Linked DNA regions of Homo sapiens: region 1 is linked to region 2. Evidence: promoter capture Hi-C in 16 types of primary human blood cells and fetal thymus (Javierre and others, 2016). All regions are on one chromosome and are shown on one strand. The core of a region is centred on a gene start or on the middle of the fragment in contact, and the rest is flanking DNA. Distances in the headings are between cores, read along the strand shown.

The links. Contacts are between HindIII fragments. The CHiCAGO score rates a contact against its expected background, and 5 or more counts as called.
Region 1: the fragment with the promoter of LMOD1 here is called in contact with the fragment with the promoter of GPR37L1 in region 2 in 1 of 17 cell types (erythroblasts); the score reaches 6.5 in erythroblasts.

What each region holds. Positions count from the first base shown.
Region 1 is chr1:201,945,167-201,950,119 of GRCh38, reverse strand. LMOD1 (leiomodin 1) reads left to right here and starts at 3,572. Exons shown (of 3, transcript NM_012134.3): 1 at 3,572-4,040. The coding sequence starts at 3,780. The HindIII fragment of the contact is 4,460 bases long and covers 170-4,629 here.
Region 2 is chr1:202,119,955-202,125,074 of GRCh38, reverse strand. It overlaps GPR37L1 (G protein-coupled receptor 37 like 1), which reads right to left and starts at 2,158. Exons shown (of 2, transcript NM_004767.5): 1 at 1,482-2,158. The coding sequence starts at 2,111. LOC105371683 (a long non-coding RNA gene) reads left to right here. Exons shown (of 3, transcript XR_922422.3): 2 at 1,017-1,124; 3 at 1,342-1,488. The HindIII fragment of the contact is 24,323 bases long and covers 1-5,120 here.

The DNA.
Region 1 (4,953 bases), core at 2,323-4,822, 180 kb after region 2:
AGAGTGGGTCGGGCAGTGGCCTCTCATTGTAGGGGCTGGAGGTGGCTGTACTCCCTGGCCTCTGGGTTCCCAAATCCTCCAGCTCCAGCTGTGATGCCTTTCAAGGGAAGACTTTTGGAGTCTGTGAGCAGTGTCAGGGAGCTCTTGGGGCTCCAGGGAGTAAAAAGCTTCTGACTGAGTCATGTCAGAAGAACCAGCGATTTGGAATTGGGAGACCTGACACAGAGAAGATACTGGGGTTAATGTGTAGAAACCTTTGGTTAGGAGGCATGAGTCCTGCCCTTTACATTTGAAAGCTATGGATTTATTTTTTTGAGTGTCTTCCTGGAGCAGAGACCACTGGGCCCAAAAAAGAAAACCACTGAAACCAGATGGTACAGGGCTAACCCTGGGGCTGAAGGTAGTGATTTGCTTTTAGGCCCTGACTGCTCCTCAGGGAGCAGTGAATATTTTTGGCAAAAAGCCTGAGAAAGAGTCCTTGGAAACTAGAAAGAGAATTGCTTTCAGCTGACTGGGAGGCTAGAGGTTGGCTGAGGTCCTAGAGCCAGGGACCCCAGAAGATGATGCTTTTTTCTGGGCAACACTGAGGGTGAAGGCCAGCTGACCCAAAGGGGGTACAGGGGGAGGGGATGGGCATAGGGAGTGCCATGTCCACCCAACATACCTAACTAAAAGCCCACTCCAGCATGGCTGAAACCCTTTGTTATGCCCTCTGAGATGACCACCCTGACTCCTCCCCACAAAATTAATGTGTCTTCCACTGGGTTTTTTAACAGTTGGACCTCTCTGCAAGACTCCTTGTACCTCTCTAGCTTGCTTCACTTTGCCTTACAGTGTAGTTATTATTATTTTTTACCCCATTGAATTATACATGTTTAAGAGAATAACAATGTTGTAATGACAATGTTGTAGTGCCTGGCAGGATGCTATATATAAATAGTAGTATCTGAATAAATGTTTGAATGAATGAATGAGAACCAGGTGAGAAAGTGTGTGTGTGTGTGTGTGTGTGTGTGTGTGTGTTTAGAGGGTGTTTACTCTTGAGAGAAAGAAATAAAAAGATGAGAGAAAAGGTGGGATGGGAAGAAAAGAACCCAGGACAAGAGTAAATAAATAATTATAGCCAGGCGCTGTGGCTCACGCCTGTAATCCCAGCACTTTGGGAGACCGAGGCAGGTGGATCACCTGAGGTCAGGAGTTCAAGACCAGCCTGACCAACATGGAGAAACCCCATGTCTACTAAAAATACAAAATTAGCCGGGCATGGTGGCTCATGCCTGTAATCCCAGCTACTTGGGAGGGTGAGACAGGAGAATTGCTTGAACCCGGGAGGCGGAGGTTGCAGTGAGCCGAGATCGCGCCATTGCACTCCAGCCTGGGCAATAAGAGTGAAACAGAGTTTCCCAATAAATAAATAAATAAATAATTATAATAATTAATAATAAATATGGTGTTTACCATGTACTGGGTATATCAATGAAATGTTGTCATGTGTAGGACCTAATTTAATATTCACAACAATTGTATAAGGTTGGTATAACTGTTGTCCTTATTTTACAGATGATGAACTCAAGTCTCAGAAAAGAAGGTAGCTTGCCCAAGTCACATGGCCTGTAAGTAGCAATACCAGGACCAAATACAGGTCTATTGGCCTCAAAGGCCCAAGCTCTTCACTGTTAAATCATACTTCTATTCAGCCTCCTCTTGTTGTGTTTTCCCATAGCCCCTGTGCTTGCTCGCTCTTTCTTTCTTTCTTTCTTTCTTTCTTTCTTTCTTTTTTGAGATGGGGTCTTACTCTGTTGCCCAGGCTGGAGTACAGTAGCGTGATCACAGCTCACTGCAGCCTCAACCTTCTGGTCTCAAGCAATCCTCCCACCTCAACCCCCTGAGTAGCTGGGACAACAGATGCTCACCACCACATCAGGCTAATTTTGTTTTTTTTTTTTTTTTGGAGAGATGGGGGTCTCATTATGTTGCCCAGCCTGTTCTTGAACTCCTGGACTCAAGCAATCCTCTTGCCTTGGCCTCCCAAAGTGCTGGGATTACAGACATGAGCCACTGCACCTGGCCTGATTTTGTATCTTTAGTGATATCTCTTGCTCTTAGAACAATGCCTGATATATAATAGGCACTTGATAAATCACTCAATAAATATATACCTACGGTTTGACCAATAAGTTGGCTACTGACTCTTAAAATGACAACCCCCAGGTTTCCCTAAAGTCTTCTTCCACTCTTCCTATCAAGTCTGCCTGCCTTCCTTCTGCCCTTCAGTCCCCCCAGTGGACACCATTCCCCTCTTCAGCCTTAACCTAAAGTTGGACTAGTGGACATTAAATGGCACGGCCAAGTTTTAGTCCCAGACGATCCCTGGACTCAGCAAATGCTGATCAAGTGACTGTCTCTCTCTGGCTTAGGATGGAAAGATGCCAGGAAAGATCGAAGCATCTACCCTGATGGGTTACACCAGGGCTTCTAGAAGGGATTTTGTGGCAGGAGGAAGGGGGGCAGGGGATTGAATGTCTCTGTGACTTGTGCAGGGCAGCATGATGGATGAGCAGTGGAAAGCCCTTCTATGAAACATGCCAGACCTGTTGCAATCGTATCTCTCCCGACGGCCCAGAATTCTGTTTCCCTGAAGACATACTAAATCGTGCTCTGGATTTATATGTGGGTGGTGACCTGCCTCTGTGCTCCCAAAGGAGGTCTGTCTACAGATGCCCGGCAGAGGAAGAAACAGATGACAACAGGGGGAGGTTTGAACCCTCTTCCCAAGAGCCTTGGAACTTCATGGAAAGTGACAGCCCTTTAAGAGTTTCCCGACTTCTGCAGATCCTTCTCTCTTTCCCAAACAGCCTGCCAGTTTTCAGTTTTGGTACACAGTAAGGATTTATTCTCTCTCTCTCTCTCTCTCTCTCTCTCTCTCTCTCTCTCTCTCCCTCTCCTGCCTAGCTATCTCTATCTCTAAGTTTGTCTTTCTGTCTCCTGTCTCTCTCTTAAGAAGTGGCCAAAGGATCCTGGAGCCTCTGATGCTCAGCCTTCAGGTCCTCCTTGGCAGAACCTGGGTAGAAAGAAAATGGGTAGGCAGGGGGTTAGGAGTAACAGCTCCTCATCTTGAATCTAGACTTTCCTGGAGCTGTATACACCTGGGAGCCCCCCAGCACATTACCAAATACTGTAGAAGGAAGTCCATGAACCACACATTGACCACAGTGATACGTCCACCCGGTGATGGAGTAGTAAAATACGCTCTTGAACGTGCCCCGGGCTGGCGAGTTCACCGGCCCTCATGGCCTCGTCCCTGCTTGTCTGGCTCTCCGTGGCTGTGATCTGCTTCTGCCAGCCTACGCATTTTTGTATCTTTTTCTCATTGCGTGGCCCCTTGTCTTTAAAAGGCTAAACTGCTCTGTACTAAATTTGGTCACGCAGCGCTCCAAGATTCCCTGGAATGTCCTCAAGTTTCAAACAGCTCTGACAGCGAGGTAGGCCCGCCCCCAGCTTGGGGATTGGCTTCTCCTCTCCGGGCCTGGCAGTTGTCGGGTCTTATTGGCCGCTGATTAGACCAGCCGGGGTCCACTAGCCCTGGGCTTCAGGGAGGCTGCTGCGTCCAGTGAACACTTCAGCACCTGTAGCACAGAAGGGCCAAGGAGCTGCAGTCCTCGACCAGCAGGAGGTTTGCTCCTCAGCCCACTCGCTGCATCCAGATCAGCTCACCCCTCTCCCTTCCCTGCCCACCAGGACTCTGATAGCCCCTGGCAGCCACAGCCCATTTTGCCAAGATGTCTAGAGTAGCCAAATATCGCCGGCAGGTGAGTGAAGACCCCGACATCGACAGCCTGCTGGAGACCCTGTCTCCCGAGGAGATGGAGGAGCTGGAGAAGGAGCTGGACGTGGTGGACCCAGACGGGAGTGTTCCCGTGGGGCTGCGGCAGAGAAACCAGACGGAGAAACAGTCCACGGGTGTGTACAACCGGGAGGCCATGCTCAACTTCTGTGAAAAGGAGACCAAGAAACTTATGCAGAGGGAGATGTCCATGGATGTGAGTGAGCACAGCCCTGGAGGGGAGGAGGGAGACAGGGGAGGGCTGGAGACCCTGGCTTCATGATTAGGATGCTTCCTTCCTTAGAAGAAACGTTCTTGTTGGCAAAGGATTTTAATGCTTCAGAACTGATGATTATCCACTGAACTAGCGGTGCGAATCTCTTACTCCTAATTTCTGTTTTATAAGCAGAAGTCGGATATGTTGGAGGAACACAACATCCCACAAAATCAAATAGAGCTACTAGTAGAATGGGAGCTGGAAGGTGTCCTTGAAGAGTCCATTGTCAAGTTGACTCCATCCTGGTCCCACAATACCTTTGTTTTTCTCCACACTCATTCCATCCTATTGTGAGGAGGGGTAAAAAGAGAGAGTGATACTTTATGTCTCCTGTCAGCCACCCAAAAAGACAAAGCTAAGCCATTTTTTGTGGGAGAATAACTCATTTTCAAGTCCCCAACCCTATGGGCATCTCACGGCACATGGATCATTTCAGGAGGCTTGGGGGTAAATGAGTTTCCCAAAGCAAAGGGAGACAGGGACCAGGAGTCTATGGGCTGGGAAATGTGGCTTAAAGACCTGATAAGCTTCAAATTTATTCCCAGGGAAGATGTTTTTTGTTGTGGTTAGTTGGTTTTTGGTTTTGTTTTGTTTTTGCACTCTCCAGAGGAGCCTCTGGAGGGAGCATGCCCTCTTTTTGGTAATTAACCCTTTAGCAGCTGGCGAGGCCGCTTTGCTGGGGGTTGAAGATAGTCATAGAGGAGGGAAAAGGGGTGACGGTTTTGGAAGCATCTGCCCACACCTACAATGGGCTTAAGCACAACTTGCTTTCTGTTTTCCTGAGTTGGCATGGAGGAATTTTTTTTTTGTCACTATTGCATTGGTATGTGAGTTTTCTTTGGACAAACTAGCC
Region 2 (5,120 bases), core at 909-3,408:
TCCTGCCTCAGCCTCCTGAGTACCTGGGACTGCAGGTGCGTGCCACCACACCCGGCTAATTTTTTATTTTTAGTAGAGATGGGGCTTCACCATGTTGGCCAGGCTGGTCTCGAACTCCTGACCTCAAGTGATCCACCTGCCTCGGCCTCCCAAAGTGCTGGGATTATAGGCATGAGCCACTGTGCCTGGCACAGGGTCTTCTTTCAGGGTGGAGTAACTTTGTACCACTGTTAGTCAGTCTCCCTGGGTTGGGAAGGACAGGAAAGGACTGTACCCACTGCTGAGACACAGGGAGTCTGTCCAACTATGACATCATCATTGTTACATGGTGAGGTGGGGACAGACCTTGGAATAGGACCTGTGTCCGTAATGCTGATCCTGAGCCCTTCTCCGGCCAGGCAAGTCCCCCTTGTCATGCAGCATCATTCACGAAGGAACAGCAGCTTCACAGGGAGACCACAGTCACTCCATTACACTCCATGCAGCCAAAATTTGAAAGACTGTTTGCTTATTTTGTCTTACAGAGAGAGAGAGGGTGGCCTTGCTGTGTCTTGCATAAATGCACACATCAGTATGTTTCTGCAGTGTTTTAAGTTGTCTCTCTATGCTCTACATATCCTTTGACACCCATGGACTTATCGTAGACGCTACCAGAAGTAAGGGCATAGTGGTATACTTTAGAACTGTGAAACAGGCCAGCTGGAAGGACCATCTGGTCTACCCGCCCTGGTTGGGAGATAAAGAAATTGGAGAGGTAATGCAACCTGCCCAGTGACGCCCAGTATGTCAGTGGCAGAGCTAAGACTAGAGCCCCCCATTAGTTCCAGTGCCCAGAACCAGGTATCCCTTTCAGAGAGGATCTAGGAAGTTGCTGATGGAAATGACAACGATAACAATGAGAATCCCAGCAGGGAGGGAAGAACGGAGCGGTCTTTTGCTTCTGGTGCTTGTATTCTCATGGAGTGGATGCTGACTTGATCCAGAGGGGTGTGAAGGAAATTGGGCTCTCCCTTCAGGCACTCCTTCAGGAGGCAGGAGACGGAGGAGCAGCGAAGGAAGCTGTGGGAGCAGGGCAGCGGCAGGGGGTACAGAGGAAAGAAGAGGAGTCACAACAAAGGACAGAGGTATCTTGGGTGGGACAGGGGAGAAGGGCTGAGGAAGGGAGAGGGCAGCTTAGGGTCTGGAGAAAGTGGCAAAGGCCTGCCTTGAGGTTGCTCCCGAAGCAGAAGATCAGGCTGGGGCTGGAACCCAGGGGCCCCACACACCCGCCTGTCCCCCTGGCCTGCCTACTTCTCTTGAGAGCAACCAGAAACCAATACCGTATTTGTCTCCTTCTCCAAGGTAAAGGAGGAGCAAGTCAGAGCTCCAAGACTCAGGTTTTGCACACCCACAAATTCCATTTCCAAAGACCTGATGGAGACTTTGAGTCCCTTCCCTGGATTGCAGCCTCCCAGCAGAGCTCAAACAGAACACACACTCACCTCCATGAAGGGCACGGCACGACAAGAAACGTCACCCAGTAGCCTCTGCTTGGTGATCTCGTTGAAGATGACAATAGGGAGGCAGAAAAAGAGGACCAGAAAATCCCAGAGGGCCAGGCTGGCAAGGATGGAGTTCCAGGCACTCTTCAGGTAGTAGCTGTGCCACACGATGCACATGACCGACAGGTTGCCCACAATGCCCACCGCAAACACCACCAGCGCCAGAAGCATGATGGCATAGGCACTGTAGGAGCTCTCGGTCACCGGATACAGGGGGTTCTGGATCTGTAGCCTCTGCCCTGGTGCTCCTGTCAGATTGCCCCTCAGTTCCTGCCCACTGTCTGGGGTGCCCCCATCCTTGCCGGGGTTAGGGCTGGTGGCCACCAAGGGCTTGGTTGGCTGCAGGCCAGCAGGGTGAATGGGCCGGGGGTACTCCGCCCACTCCTCAGGCACATACTGCTGCACGCCCTTGGCCTCCTCATCCTCGGTGCCCCTCTTGGATCGGCTCTGCTGCTCCTGGGTCTCGGCTCTGTGCCTGCCCAGGTGCAGGGGGGCACCCCCAGAGACCCTGCTTAGCCCCACAGCCAAAATCACAGCAAGAGAGACAGCCAGGGGCCACAGCCACCGCATGGCTGGATGAGCAGGAGACAGCCAGCCCAGGAAGAGCAGGTGAGTGCAGGGGGCCCAAGAGCTGGGCTCCAGAGAGGCAGCTGGCCGGCTGGATCCGCCTCCAGTCAGGCGTCTGGCATCACTCGCCTGCCCTCCCTCCCAGCCTCCGGCCACAGGCCGGGCAGGGCCCTCTGCTGGACACATAGCACTCTTTGCTGCCCTCACACATCTCGTCCTCCACGACGCCGCTTCTCAGGCCCTACAGCATGTCAGGCTGTGGGGCCCTAAGAGGGCATCTGCTTCAGGCCCCTGAAACTAGGGAGGAAATGTGGCCTGCCTAGGGTGACACAGGGAGGTGGGGCAGAATGGGAACTGGGGCGCAGGTCTCCTGATTCTAAGGCAGCTCCTCCATTCAAAACTCAGCAATAACCATCACTGTCACTTACTGAACACTTACTAGGTGCTAGCACTCAGCTGGTTTCTCAATTAACCCTTGATTAATCTCAGATCACAAATCTGAGGTTTGTAGAGGTCAGTCACTTGCCACATAGTTGATACAAGGCAGAGCAAGGCCCACAACCCAGATCTGACTCCAGAGATTTCTAATTTTTTTTTTTTTTTCGGTTGCCCAGGCTGGAGTGCAATGGCGCGGTCTTGGCTCACTGCAGCCTCCGCCTCCTGGGTTCAAGTGATTCTCCTGCCTCAGCCCCCTGAGTAACTGGGATTACAGTTACTGTAGTGCCCGCCACCATACCCGGCTAATTTTTGTATTTTTAGTAGAGACAGGGTTTCACCGTGTTGACCAGGCTGGTCTCAAACTCCTAACCTCAGGTGATCCGCCTGCCTCAGCCTCCCAAAGTGCTGGGAGCCACCGCACCCGGCCTAAAACACCATATTCTGAGCCAGACACAAGATGTGTGGACATTTGCAATAACACGTCTTTACTGACTACGTGTTGTGTTCCAGACACTCAGAATACAAAAATGTAAAGGATCTCTGCCACCAATGAGCTTTCAGTCCAGAGAAGGAAGTAAATGTGTAAGTTCAGCATGATAGATGCTATGAAAGGCAAAGGTCATGATGCTGAGGGAACCCAAGAAAATCTGGGGGGGATCTGGAAGGCCTCCCAAGCGAGGTGACATTTGAATGGATCCCGAGAAATGGCTGTGAGCTTGCCTGACAGACTACGGGAAGGGAGGGTGCTCTAGGCAGAAGACACAGCACACACAAAGGCTGGGTGATGTGGAAGTGGGTGATGTTCCCGCAAGAGAGCAAGTCTGTCGAGGGGACTAGAGTGCAAGGGAGGTGGGGAGAGAGCATGGGCACTTGGGACAAAGAGCTTGGAAATATCAGCAGAGGAGGAACTGGACTGTAAAGGACTTTGTATGCCAAGCCAAGGAGTTTAGATTTTATCCCATAAGCAATGGAGAATATCACAGGTTGTTAAGTAGGCAAACAATGACTCAACTAAGTTATTTTAGAGGGGTCCCTGATGGGCAGCTGGGGTCCTAGCAATCTGGAACAGGAGGATGCAGAGACCGGGGGTTCTGTTGGGAGGCAGTGGGTGATGGAGAGAAGCCCAGAGTCAAGGAAAACCAGCAGCTTTGAGCGGCTTTGGCTGTGCATGGGAGGGAGAGGTCGAGGCAGAGCCCAAGCATGGGGTGGGTAGTGAATCCACTCAGCCACATTAGGGAGGCACAGTTCTGAGGACGGACCACACGATGCCTAGGAGAATCCACTGGAGAATTAACTCGAAGACCTGCCCCAGAGTGAGTCAGATCATTCCCTCCTCCCAACTCCCACGGCATTATGCTGCTGTCATTGAAACCTACCACCTTCACCAGCCCAGACAACATGGTGAAACCCCATCTCTACTAAAAATACAAAAATTGGACAGATGTGGCAGTGCACACCTGTAATCCCAGCTACTCGGGAGGCTAGGGCATCAGAATCACTTGAACCCAGGAGGCAGAGGTTGCAGTGATCCGAGATCATGCCACTGCACTCCAGCCTGGGCAACAGAGCAAGACTCTGTCTCAAAAAAAAAAAAAAAAAAAAAAAGGGCCAGACGCAGTGGCTCATGTGTGTAATCCCAGCACTTTGGGAGGCTGAGGTGGGCAGATCACAAGGTCAGGAGTTCAAGACCAGCCTGACCAACATGGTGAAACCCCCGTCTCTACTAAAAATACAAAAAAAAAAAAATTAGCCACGCGTGGTGGCAGGCACCTGTAATCCCAGCTATTTAGAAGGCTGAGGCAGGAGAATCACTTGAACCCGGAAGGCGGAGGTTGCAGTGAGCTGAGATTGCGGCCAATGTACTCCAGCCTGGGCGACAGAGCAAGATTCCATCAAAAAAGAAAGAGAAAAGGAAAGGAAGTTGGGGGAGGGGAGGGGAGGGGAGAGGAGAGGAGATGAGAGGTGTGCTATTTGGGGATTTGGGTAACTAGAATCATCCATCATCTGCAGCATCACCACTCACCAAGTGCCACACTCTGTGCTAAATGCTTGCTATAATTGTCACTTAATCTTTATATTATTACCCTAGACTCTGAAAGGTAAGGCAACTTTCCTAAGAACACACAGCTAGTGAATGACAGCTGGGATCCAAATGTAGGTTTGTCCAACTCCAAAGCTAAAACTCTTTTTTTTTTGAGACAGGGTCTGGCTCTGTTGCCCTGGCTGGAGTGCAGTGGCATGATCTTGGCTCACGGCAACCTCAGCCTCCCAGGCTCAAACAATCTTCCCACCTCAGCCTCCAGAGTAGCTGGGACCACAGATGTGCACCACCACACCTGACTAATTTTTGTATTTTTAGTAGAGACAGGCTTTTTGCCATGTTGCCCAGGCTGATCTCAAACTCCTGAGCTCGAGTGATTTACCCGCCTCAGCCTCCCAAAGTTCTGGGAATACAGGTGTGAGCCACCTCACCCAGCCCAAAGCTGAAACTCTTAACCACTCCTTTGTGTGACTTCACAGAATTCTAACATAGGAAGAGATGCTAGAGATAATCTACACCAACCTTCTTATTTT